3 separate regions of the Homo sapiens genome follow, and all the other regions are linked to region 3. The links are contacts of gene promoters, found by promoter capture Hi-C in blood cells and fetal thymus (Javierre and others, 2016). All regions are on one chromosome and are shown on one strand. The core of a region is centred on a gene start or on the middle of the fragment in contact, and the rest is flanking DNA. Distances in the headings are between cores, read along the strand shown. Region 1 has its middle 26 kb from the start of RIPK1. Region 2 holds the start of LOC101927759 (a long non-coding RNA gene). Region 3 holds the start of SERPINB1 (serpin family B member 1).

Evidence for each region. Contacts are between HindIII fragments. The CHiCAGO score rates a contact against its expected background, and 5 or more counts as called.
Region 1: a fragment that was not itself captured here is called in contact with the fragment with the promoter of SERPINB1 in region 3 in 5 of 17 cell types (activated CD4 T cells, naive CD4 T cells, total B cells and 2 more); the score reaches 6.7 in activated CD4 T cells.
Region 2: a contact is called between a fragment that was not itself captured here and the fragment with the promoter of SERPINB1 in region 3, in 12 of 17 cell types (activated CD4 T cells, total B cells, naive B cells and 9 more). The highest score is 8.3, in activated CD4 T cells.

The regions. Positions count from the first base shown.
Region 1 is chr6:3,040,347-3,044,786 of GRCh38, reverse strand. No RefSeq gene overlaps it. Among named protein-coding and RNA genes, the nearest start is that of RIPK1, 26 kb to the left of the region's middle. The HindIII fragment of the contact is 1,713 bases long and covers 1,132-2,844 here.
Region 2 is chr6:3,022,212-3,025,967 of GRCh38, reverse strand. It overlaps LOC101927759 (a long non-coding RNA gene), which reads right to left and starts at 1,905. Exons shown (of 3, transcript NR_152848.1): 1 at 1,795-1,905. It also overlaps the pseudogene HTATSF1P2. RefSeq lists enhancers at 1-88, 1,532-2,731 and a silencer at 199-493. The HindIII fragment of the contact is 6,369 bases long and covers 1-3,756 here.
Region 3 is chr6:2,839,923-2,844,306 of GRCh38, reverse strand. It overlaps SERPINB1 (serpin family B member 1), which reads left to right and starts at 2,444. Exons shown (of 7, transcript NM_030666.4): 1 at 2,444-2,495; 2 at 3,713-3,888. The coding sequence starts at 3,721. RefSeq lists a silencer at 2,500-2,549. The HindIII fragment of the contact is 1,424 bases long and covers 2,216-3,639 here.

The DNA.
Region 1 (4,440 bases), core at 739-3,238, 200 kb before region 3:
CTTCTTTGCTTTTCTGTATAAATTTTTTGAATCAACCTGTCTATGTCTCCCAAAAATTCCCTGGGATTTTGACTGCAAATGTATTAAGTGTATATATAAATTTGGGAAGATTGTCATCTTTTTAATATTGATTTTTCTAATTCATGAACATGGTGTCTTTCTCCATTTATTTAGACCTTCTTTGGTGTCTTTTATCAGCTATTTTTAGTTTTCAGCATAGAGAGCATGTACATGTTTTGTGAGATTATTTTATTTGAGGATCTACTGTGAATTTTATTGTTTTAATTTTGGGTTCCAATTTTACATTACTGGTATATAAAAAGACAATTTACCTTTACACATTGACCTTGTATCTTGCTATATCATCTTATTAGTTCTAGAAGGTTTTTTTCTTTTCTTTTCTTTTCTTTTTTTTTTTTTTTTTTTGAGACTGAGTTTTGCTCTTGTTGCGCAGGCTGGAGTGCAGTGGTGCAGTCTTGGCTCACTGCAACCTCCGCCTTCTGGGTTCAAGCTATTCTCTTGCCTCAGCCTCCTGAGTAGCTGGGGTTACTGGCGCCCTCCACCACGCCGGGCTAATTTTTGTATTTTTGGTAGAGATGGGGTTTCACCATGTTGGCCAGGCTGGTCTCGAACTCCTGACCTCAGGTGATCCACCCACCTAGGCCTCCCAAAATGCTGGGATTACAGGTGTGAGCCACCGTGCCTAGCCTTGTTTTGTTTTTTCTTTTGTATATTCCTTGAAATTTTCTACATATACAACCATATAATCTGCAAATAGGGATAGTTTTATTGCCTACTTTCCAATTTGTGTGCCTTTTTGTAAATTTTCCTTTTCATTGCACTGACTAGGTGAGAATGGACATCCTGGCCTATTCTTAATTTTATGAGAATAGCATAATGATAGCTGTAGATATTTAGTTGTCTATTGTCAAATTAAAAACATTTTTTTTCGGCCCAACATGGTGGTTCTCACCTGTAATCCCAGCACTTTGGGAGGTTGAGGCGGGTGGATCACCTGAGGTCAGGAGTTCAAGACCAGCCGGCCAAAATGGTGAAACCCCTTCTCTACAGAGCAAGACTCTGTCTCAAAAAAAAAAAAAAAAAAAAAGACTTTTTTTTCTATTCCAAGCTTGCTAAGAGGTTCCTTTTCCCCCATGAATGGACAACATTAAGTTTGGTCAAGTGCTTTTTCTGCATTAATTAATAGGATCATGTGGGTTTTTTTCTAGTCTATGGTGGATTACATTGGTTGATATCCAAATATTGAACCTTACTTGCATTCCCGGAATAAACATTATTATGTCTTGCTGTGCTATTCTTTGTATACATTGCTAGTATAATAAACATTATGTCATGCTGTACTACTCTTTTTTTTTTTGAAAGAGCCTCACTCTTGTTACTCTTGTTGCCCAGGCTGGAGTGGGGTGGTGCGATCTCAGCCCACTGCAACCTCTGCCTCCCGGGCTCAAGCGATTCTCCTGCCTCAGCCTTCTGAGTAGCTGGAATTACAGGCATGCGCCACCACGTCTGGCTAATTTTTGTATTTTTAATAGAGACGGGGTTTCGCCATGTTGGCCAGGCTAGTTTTGAACTCCTGGCCTTAAGTGATCCACCCTCCTCAGCCTCCCAAGGTGCCGAGATTACCAGCATGAGCCACTGTGTCTGGCCTATACTATTCTTTTCATACATTGCTCATATAATAAATACCATTATGCCATGCTGTACTATTCTGTTTATACATTGCTGATTTGCAAATGTTTTGTTGAGGATTTCTTTGTATTCAAAAACACATAATGATATAGGTACAGTGGTCTATAATTTTCTTTTTTGTATTTGTTTTTGTTATAATAGTAATAAAAGCCTCATAAAATGAGTTGGAAAGTGTCCCTTTTCTATTTTCTGGAAGAGATTGTATAGGATTGATGTTTTCTTCTCATTTAAATAGTTGGTAGAATTCATCAGTAAAATCATATGGGCCTGGAGATTTCTTTTTAGAAGGCTTTTAACTATACATTTGATTTCTTCAATAGTCATAGGATTATTTTATTATGTCTATTTCATCTTGGGCGTGTTTTAGCAGTTTGTAGTTTTCTAGGAATTGGTTCATCTCGTCTAAAGTGTATGTGCATAGAGATACTCACGGTATTTGTTGCGGGGAGCAACAACTATCTAGGACAGTGGTGTGGGGTGTATAAGAATTTACCAAGACAGGCCAGGCGCAGTGGTTCACGCCTGTAATCCCGGCACTTTGGGAGGCCGAGGCGGGCAGATAACCTGAGGTCGGGAGTTCAAGACCAGCCTGACCAACATGAAGAAACCCCATCTCTACTAAAAATACAAAATTAGCCAGGCGTGGTGACGCACGCCTATAATCTCAGCTACTCGGGAGGCTGAGGCAGGAGAATCACTTGAACGCAGGAGGCAGAGGTTGCAGTGAGCCGAGATTGCACCATTGCACTCCAGCCTGGGCAACAACAGCAAAACTCCATCTCACAAAAAAATAATAATAATTTACCAAGAGAGTTGTTGATAAAGAAAGGCAGATTTATTAGAGAAAGTAGGAAAATACATTGCCAGAGAGACAATGGACAAGTCAGCAGAAGCTGACTGCAAAGAAACAAAGACTTGTGGAGATTTTGTAGGGCAGTGCTTATGCTGAAGAGGGCTTTGTGTAGTACTGATAATACCAAGATTGCAGTGAGTTAACTTGCAGGTGTTCTGTGATAGCTAGGTGCAGGAAGACTGAATTATTTGCACAGGAGGGCTATGTATCCCAGACCATGAGAAAGGCAGACTTGTAGCTTATCTGCTTTCTCTTTTTGCTTTCCCTTGGTCCTGCAAGCTTGACTCCCTTTCCCTAGTTAGGGCTCCACATTTCCCCACTAACAGAGCAACAATAACAAATCTTTGGTATGTGGACAAAGATCTCATCTTCCAACTGCTTCCTGCTGACCAGGGGCACCGAACCGGCCCTACCTAATCCTGTTACTCTGTCAGGAAATTACAAAGGCCTAAATCCTTGGCTTGGGAGTTAATTGGGCAGAGTCATTGTGTAACCATGGGGTTGGGGGCAGCATTTGTAGCCTAAAATTTTGTCCTGCTGTATCCAAAGGAGAGTCATGGAGTTCTTTTAGTGGCTGATACCTTCACTGCAGTGACATTTTAGTTTGAAATGGTTGTGTTCACAAAATTTGAAATTGTTGTGTTAGAAGACACAAAACAAGATATTGCATTAATAATACGTAATGCGAATAAGCTAATATAAGCATTATTATAGGTGACAGAAGTGGGGCCTGAGAGATAAGATTTCTAAATGTTAATTCAATAAGAGAAAATCAAGGAAAAGTTTGTAGATGTACTAGTGAGGAGTTAGTTTACTTTTGACCTTTATTTCTACATATTCCATTCCAGTTGCTGAACTATTTATAGGCATGAAAGAATTACTACACATTTTGCTGGCATTAACTTTATTGTTTCCCCACCACAGAAAAAACCTGTGGAGGTAAACAGTGAACTTGTCTCCCATTCCTGGTGTGTTTGGTTATAATTGAGGGTGTAATTGCAATGGGCTCGAATTAAAGCCCCTAGGACAAGGCCAGACCCCTTGGAGTTTGTGATGTAGAGGTGTGCCTTACAAGCCTCTGCATATGATGAAGACAAACAAATTTTTAATGAGGCATTTTTATGGAAACAGAAAAAAAAAAAAACAAAGATTAACATTGGGCACAATTTATCCAGATGTTAAAGCATTTTTAGTTATAGAGGAGGAAGGCAGTGGCAATCTGACCCTTTTCTTTCTTTGCTTGTATTTTAAAGAATGGACTTTAGTTTGCAGGACCTTAGGAAAGAGGTAATAGCAACTCCATTGAGTTTATTTTTTTCTTTTCTTTTTTTTTTTTTTTGAGACGGAGTCTTGCTCTGTCACCCAGGCTGGAGTGCAGTGGTGCGATCTCGGCTCACTGCAAGCTCTGCCTCCCGGGTTCACGCCATTCTTCTGCCTCAGCCTCCTGAGTAGCTGTGACTACAAGCGCCCGCCACTGCGCCCGGCTAATTTTTTTTGTATTTTTAGTAGAGACGGGGTTTCACCGTGGTCTCGATCTCCTGACCTCGTGATCCACCCGCCTCGGCCTCCCAAAGTGCTGGGATTACAGGCGTGAGCCACCGCGCCCGGGCGAACTCCATTGAGTTTAAATTAGAAAAATAAAAGGAAAAAAATGTTGAATGCATTGGGAACTTATAGCCCAGAAAGAATTCAGGATTTAGTTAAAATTGTGGAAAATAATAAAAAACTTTAAAGCAGTGAACAAGACTAGAATTTGATGACAGATGTACTACAGCTTTTCTGAAACATAATTTTTCTTTCCAGTTTACTAAGAACAAATTATAATAGAACAAATCTATTGGTAAAATAAGTTTTAGCCTTATTAAACTTGGCTTGAG
Region 2 (3,756 bases), core at 863-3,362, 180 kb before region 3:
GTTGGCCCCTGACCCACTTACTTCATCACAGCTCCAAGTCCAGAAACAAGAAAGGTCTCTCTTTCCTGATAGGTCCAATGAACCCCTGAGTTCAGTCTCACTCCCTGGGGTGGTTACAGCTAGGCCACGGAACACTGTGATCAGTCAGGGCTGTGAACTGCCACTCCTGGGGTCGGAGGAGGGGCTACCCTTATGAACACCACATAGCTTGGTTGAAAGGGCATGGTTCCCCCACCACACACAAAAAAACAAGGTGTTACAATCAGAAAAAATGGGAATAGATATGGGACAGGCAAAGATGACTCTTCACAGCATCTGCCATGCAGCGGCTCAGAGTGCTTTGTCACTACCCCAATCACAGGCACTTTGGTTGCTTCCAGAGAGGAACCAGACGCCCTGGGTTCAAACCACATCTGCCCCTCTACAGCTATGACCCTTGGGCAGATGTCTTTTTTTTTTTTTTTTTTTGAGATGGAGTCTCGCTCTGTGGCCAGGCTGGAGTGCAATGGCACGATCTCACCTCACTGCAACCTCCACCTCCCGGGTTCAAGTGATTCTCCTGCCTCAGCCTCCCAAGTAGCTGGGACTATAGGCATATGCCACCACACCCGGCCAATTTTTGTATTTTTTAGTAGAGACGGGGTTTCACCATGTTGGCCAGGCTGGTCGTGAACTCCTGACCTCAGGTGATCCTCCCACCTCGGCCTCCTTTTAAAGTGCTAGGATTACAGGATGGAATAACACTTTCCTTTAAGGGCCAACGAAATCACTTGAGCATGCATCCATCAGAGGGAGGGCGGCTTAGGAGAGGTTCCCACACGGTGCCCACTGCTGAACTGTTCATTAGCTAGCTTTTTCCTGCATCCCCATCTTATCGCCATTTTCTGGGGCTCGGTTTTTCCGTCTTGAGAAAGAAATAGGCCTGTGCTTATTTCCCTCTCCCCTGGGACAAGGCACCAGCCACTCTCCTGAGCTGCTGGGAACTTCTCCAAAATTCCTGGTGCTTCCTCACATTGAGCAACATGAGTCTCTTTCCTCTTTTTACCAGGCTCCACCCACGAGAGGCTCTGAGACAAACTACACAACCAAAGAAGTCTTTCTGCATCCACAAAGCCCTGTTTGCCTAAGAAAAAGGTCGCGGGGCCCAATCACACACACCTGGCTGCAGTCATTTCCAATTTTCTTTTTTTTTTTTTAATGGCAATTCCTGCTGCCCTGCTGATACTGAATTTATTTTTTATTTTAAGTTTTTCAGCAATAAGATCTTAAAAACCGGCCGGGCGCGGTGGCTCATGCCTGTAATCCCAGCACTTTGGGAAGCCAAGGCAGGCAGATCACCTGAGGTCGGGTGAGTTCAGCCTGACCAACATGGAGAAACCCTGTCTCTACTAAAAATACAAAATTAGCCGGGCATGGTGGCGCATGCCTGTAATTCCAGCTACTCGGGAGGCTGAGGCAGGAGAATCGCTTGAACCAGGGAGGTGGAAGTCGAGGTGAGCCGAGATCGCGCCATTGCACTCCAGCCTGGGCAACAAGAGTGAAACTCCGTCTCAAAAAAAAATTCTTAAAAACCGGCAGAAAATGTATCAGGGTGCCCGGTACTAACAGGAGATGAGACATAGGCAAGAGCCCAGCCCTCGAATTGCTAACAGTTTTGCTTGGGAACCGGAATTAATGTCTTCAGCATACTCAGGCCAAGGTGACAGCACCGGCTCTCAGAGAGGTTGGATTTCAGCAACTTCCCATCCTCTCAACCCACACAGGAACAGGCCCCTCGGCAGTTCGAGAACGCACCTTCCCATACTTCAGAGTTGCCGGAGGGAGGGTGGAGGACCTCCTGCCTCACAGTGATCTGAGGTCCAGAAACCCTAGGGACCCCAGCTTGAGGCTCTGAAGGGCTGTGACACAGCCTCTTTGCCTGCCAGCCCCGCCCCGGATGCAGCCTGCTGAGCGAGGGTGGAGGAGGGGAGCTATGTGGCCAAAACCCTGAGTCACTGAGGAGCACGAGGGAGCCGCCCTTTCCGGCGTGTCTCCCGAGGCTGTCTGCCCTTCCCCAGCCTCTGCAGCCTACAATCCCAATCAAGAGCCAGCCCGGTTTCTGCAAGCACACAGGAGCAGAAGAGAAACCAGTGAAGACTTCACCGCTGCATATCAGGCCAGCGACGGCTGCTCGGTGACGGCGCTGCTCTGCCACCAAGAAAAACCCCAAACCCACTGATCCCACAAAGAGGGGAGAAAAAGGAAGGCTTCATGCTGAAGAAGGAGAAATACAAACGTGTATGTGCCGGTTTGCCTCTGGTCGTTACCGTGGAGGCATTCACACGCCTGTCCATTTGGCATTATTATGAGCGATCCCCAGACAGAAGAACTTAAGGTCAAGTTTTACAGAGATAACCAAGGACATCTTAAAGGAGACAGGCTGTGCGATCATTGGAAGAGGGAAGCTGTGGATCTTGCATTCATGCATTTGGATGAAGATGACACTGGAAACTGCACGTTGCAGGTTGAGGTGGCCAAGTATCAACGGAATGGGAAATATGAGGCTTCAGGAAGGAAGTGCGCGAACCACAGGAAGGCTCCGTCTCTACGGCAGAAGCGGCCACGCCGCAGCCCATCCAAACGCCGCGACACGAGTGAGTTGTCCTCATCGAACACATTTCATCCTGTGGATTTTGAGGATGGCCAGAGAAGACCTTCAAGGAGAGTCAAGTTTGGACCAACTCGGAGGCTCATTGTCTTTGACAGACACCCAGCTGGTGAACCTGTGTCCTGGAGGAATGCAGGAGCAGCTGCTCATTGTATTCAAACCTTTGATGGAAGGTGGTTTGAATGATAATGGTTGAACAGACTCCAAGGCTGAGAGGACGGGCGGGCGGCTTCCTTCAGTGTCCCTGAGGCCAACACACTCAGTGCTCCGATTCCACAGAGGGGGACTTTGGGTGGTGCTGGGGGCGTTGAGGAAGAAGGGCCCCTGGGCACAGCCAGCAGTGCTGTCCTCAGTAGTGATGACAAGGAGGAGGAGGAAAAGGGAAAAGAGGAGGATATGATGACAAAGATGATATTTAATCCCTCAAACTTGCTTTTAGGGAAGTTCCTCCATCTGCATGTGGCTGTGTGTCAGGGTGATTATTAGTAGGGTTACGTGAACACGGCACAGTGGTACAATGCCATCAGACTAAATTTTTTAAAAGTTTTAAATTTTCATTGTAACTGGCAATTAATGATTTTTAAATTATTTTTATTTATTTATTTGTTTTTTGAGACAGGTCTCATTCCGTCACCCAAGGCTGGAGTGCAGTGGTGTGATCTCAGCTCACTGCAACCTCTGCCTCCCAGCTCGAGCGATTCTCTCACCTCAGCCTCCCAAGTACCTGGGACTGCAGATGTGTGCCACCACACCTGGCTAATTTTTTTTTTTTTTTATAGGGTTGGGGTTTCGCCATGTTGCCCAGGCTGGCCTCAAACTGCTGAACTCAAGCAATCTGCCCATCTTAGCCTCCAAAAATGCTGGGATTCCAGGTGAGAGCCATCACGCCTGGCTATTTTTAAAAAGAGTCTTGCTCTGTCATCCAGGCTGGAGTGCAGTGACACAGTCATGGCTCATTGCAGCCTTGAACTCCTGGACTCACGTGACCCTCTTGCTTCAGCCTCCTGAGTAGCTGGAATTACAGGTGCGTGCCACCATGCCTAACTAATGTATATTTTTAAATTTTTTGTAGAGATGGGTCTCATTATGTTGCCCAAGCTGGTCTTGAA
Region 3 (4,384 bases), core at 1,195-3,694:
TACATTTCTGTTTTTAATAAATTGCCCAATCACAGGTATTTATAGCAGCACAAATGGACTATGACAGAAATTGATACTGAGAATGGGATGTTGCTATAACTAATACCTAAATATGTGGAAACAGCTTTGAAACTGAGTAATGGGTAGAGGCTGGAAGAATTTGGAGATGCATGCTGGAAAAAGCCTGTATAGACATAAACAGAGCTTTAAGGGAAATTAAGGGTGAGGGCTCAGAAGACAAGGAGAGCTGTAGGGAGAGCCTAAATCATCTTAGAGATTAATTAAGTGGTCTGGTCTTGATCAGAATGCGGTTAGAAGTATAGATGGTAAAGACACTTTTGATGAGATCTTAAAAGGAAACTGGAGGAAAGGTCATCCTTGTTACACAGTGGCAATGAACTTGGCTGAATTGTGTCTATGTCCTAGTGTTTTCTGAATGGCAGAACTTAAAGGCAATAAACTAGGATATTTGATGGAAGAAATCTCTGAGCAAAGCGTTGAGAGTGCAGCATGGCTTCTCTTGACTGCTTGTAGTAAAATGTGAGCAGAGAGAATGAATTAAAAACGAAGTTTATAATCAAGAGGGAAGCAGAGCTTAAAGTTTTGGAAAATTCTCAGCCTGGCCATGTAAAGAATGAAAAGGCATGTTTGGGAGGGAACACCAAGAGTGCTGCCAGGTTCACATTTGATAATGAGATGAGTATGTGTAGAAGGAAGCCAGATGCTATTTATCAAGACAATGGAAGAATGAACCCAAAGGCATTTCTGAGGTTACTGGTTCTGGATTCTCATCCCTGTCCCAGAGTGCCAGGACCCTGAGGGCAGAATAGTTTTAAGGGAGGACTCAGGACACCATGGAACCTTGGGGCTTGCTGCCTAGGGCTGCCTCAAGTCTCTGCCCCCCCACCCCCCACATTCTGGTGCAGCACTCTTTGGCCACCATCCCACGTGTGGCTTATGCAGGCCCTTGTCAGGCCACCCTTCCTGTAAGCCTTGGCAGAGTCCACGTGATGCTAACTCTGCAGGTGCACAGAGTGCATGAACTGTGGAGACACAGCCACCTCCACCTAGATTTTGAAGGATGTGTTGGGGACCCTGGGGGCCCAGTCTGAGAATTGTCACTGAGGTGAGGCTGCTGCAGAAAACCCTCACTAGGGCAATGTTTAGTGGAGCAGTGGGATTGGGGCCACTGCAGAGAGCCCCAAATAGAGTAATATCTAGTGGAGCTGTGGGAACAGGGCTGTCCCTGAGAACCCAGAACTGTCCAGCCACCAGCATGCAAGTCTATCCTGGGAGAGCCTAGACCTCAACCTGTGAGAGCTGCTGCATGGGTTGCACCTGGCAAATCCATGGGAGTGGATCCCCTGGACACTAGGGGACCCAGTCTCCACCCCCCTGTGCTCGGAATGGGGGACACAGCATCAAAGAAGATTATTCTGAAGCCCCAAGATTTAATGCTGTTTGCCTTGTTGGGTTTGGACTTACTTGGGACCAGATACTCCTTTCTTCTTGCCTGCTTCTCCCTTTGGGAATGGGAATGTACGTCCTATGCCTGTCTCATCACTGTATTTTGAAGGCCTGTAACCTATTTGATTTCACGGGCTCATAGCTGGAGGGGAATTTCACTTAGGATGAATTGTACTTTGAATCTTATGCCTTTCTAATTTAGAAGATATTTAGGTGAGACTTTGGACTTACATTTTAAAGTTGATACTGGAACTTTGGAGGCCACTGGGATACAATGCATGCATTTTGCATGTGAGAGGGGTATGAATTTGGAGGGCAGGGGCAGAATGCTATGCTTTGAATGTCTGTGTTCCCTGCAAAATTCATGCTGAAACAATCCTCAATGCAATACTAACAGGTGGTGCCTTTAGGAGGTGACTGGATTATGAGGGCACCTTCCTCATGAATGGGATTGGCCCCTTATACGAGAGACTTCACATGAGATTTGGCCCCTTTTGCCCTTCCACTTTCCACCATTGAGGACGCAGCAGCAAGCTGTCATCTTGGAAACAGAGAGCAGGTGTTTGGAACTGGTTCTGTTTCATCTGATTCTGGGGGCCCCTCTTTTTCCCTGTGCAAGATCCCCAAATTTGCTTCCTTCTCTCAAAGAAAGCTCCCAATATAGATGGGACTCAAAGGGAGTCATTTGCCCTCTAAGAGGTGTCACAATATGTCGTCTCAGTCATTCACACCTTAGTAAGAAAAAGCTTTTCAGGTCCTTGCCAGAGATTCGGGGAAAGGCTTTGAACTGAGAAAGAAGCCGCGCCCCTGAGGAGGGCGCTGCCCGGAAGCCACGCTCACTTCTGCTTGCACTTAGGCGACCTCGGGAGCTCGGACTCCTACGCAGTCACCGGGAAGGGCCGCCGCCCCGCCCGCGGCTGCTGGCCCGGGTGACGCTTCCGCCTGCTATAAGAGCAGCGGCCCTCGGTGCCTCCTTCCTGACCTCGCACCCAGCTCGGAGCCCGGAGCGTGCCTCGGCGGCCTGTCGGGTAAGGCCGGGCCTCGGAGCGGTGGCGCGGGGGCGGGCGCGGGGAGAGGCCAGGCTCCCTCGCTCAGCTTCCAGCCCGGCACCCCCCACCCCCCAGGCTCAGGCCCCTCAGACCCGCAGCTCCCTGCGCTCGCCCTCCCCGCCAGCTTCGCGCCCCCATCCCTTCCGGGCGCCCCGACGGAGACAGACGACCTCTGATCCCCCGCCCCCGCCTGGGTACAGGCCGGGCCAGCCCGCGAGGGAGGGAGGGAGGGAGGACGACAGATGCAGGCGGAAGGCAAGACTGAAACCTGAGATCAGAATGTTGTCCCTTCTCCCTGAATTCCCTTCCTCCCAGAGCTGTTTGTGACGGTTTCCAGGCAGCCCAGGGCCAGGCCGCGGCTCCTATCTGCAGCTGCAGGGAGAGAGAGGAGGAACCCCGTGCGATTCTAGAGACGATTTCACAACAAGGAGAAATCAGCTTTGTGCTTACATGCCGAGCAGCCAGCACGGTTCTTCTTTGCCTGTCCTCGGGGGAAATCAGGGCTCTGAGAGTGGAGATCGAGATGGGCTAGTGGGTGGCGGATGGGACGCTGCACGGCCAGACCCTGGACTGTGGTGGGTTTCCAAACTGGCACATCCTACACCGGCTCTGAGACTGTGGGCACTGGACCTCATACCTTTTGAACCTCAAAAATAAGGAAGAATTATATTATTATAATAATTACAGTGATACCTTTGCTGGAGTTTTAATGCATAGTAGGTAGCTGAGTCTCTGATAGAAGGCTCTTAGTTCAGGTGAAGGTAGGCAATGGATTCATTGCCCAATGAATCAGAGACTTGAATCAAAGGCTCAGAAGCACGTGCGCTCCCACACATAGGTTGGGAAGACCCAGGGCTGGGTGGGCCCTCCCACCCCACTAAAGCTGGGGTAGCTGGGGCCTGCCTTACCCCCGCCCCACCCCCAGACTCACCTGTCTGCAAGGTCAGAGCCCTTTAGGGCACCCTGGGTGCCCTAAAATCCCCTATAACTGCTGAGTCCTTGGCCAGAATGGTCCCACATTTGTGGGCCTGGGAAAGTGTTCTTGCCCTGCTGGAATAAAAAAGCGGGGAGAAAGTACAAGATCCAGGATGCCTCAGGGCGGTTGGCAGAAATTGAGGAAGCTTCTGGAGAAATAGTGCTGCCTAATCTGCTGGCGTGGGCAGTGGGCACCATGAGGACCCTGTTCTGTGTTGCAGTTTTCACCATGGAGCAGCTGAGCTCAGCAAACACCCGCTTCGCCTTGGACCTGTTCCTGGCGTTGAGTGAGAACAATCCGGCTGGAAACATCTTCATCTCTCCCTTCAGCATTTCATCTGCTATGGCCATGGTTTTTCTGGGGACCAGAGGTAACACGGCAGCACAGCTGTCCAAGGTCAGCAGAAACAAAAAAAAGGGTCTGCTTTCCTCCCATCTCCCTACGAATGGACAGTCTGCATGGAAAGGTTGTGCCTTTGAGCTCTTACCTTGTGTTTTCAGAACTGTATTTTTATGAGATCAGACTTTCAGAAAAGTCACACTTGTATGCAGGCTTCCATTCATCATCAGGTTTTTCCTAAGTACCTACCACGTACCAGGAACTGTTTTTCGTATTGCTGAGGAGACAGCAGTGAGCAAAGCTGACAAAAATCCCTGCAGGGCGAGGCTTCTGTTCCAGTGGATGAATCTGACAGCTTTCCTGAAAGGCATACTACATCCTCCTGAGCTAGCATCTTCCAGTTTTTGCTTTGCATATGATGATATGCAACTCATAAATATTGCCTGTTATATAACACTACTTTCAAGCATAATGAGAGGAATAAGACATAGGGAATGCATTATAGTGGAGATAGTGGCATTGCTTTTTTGCAAGGAAAAGAGAAAAAGTGACC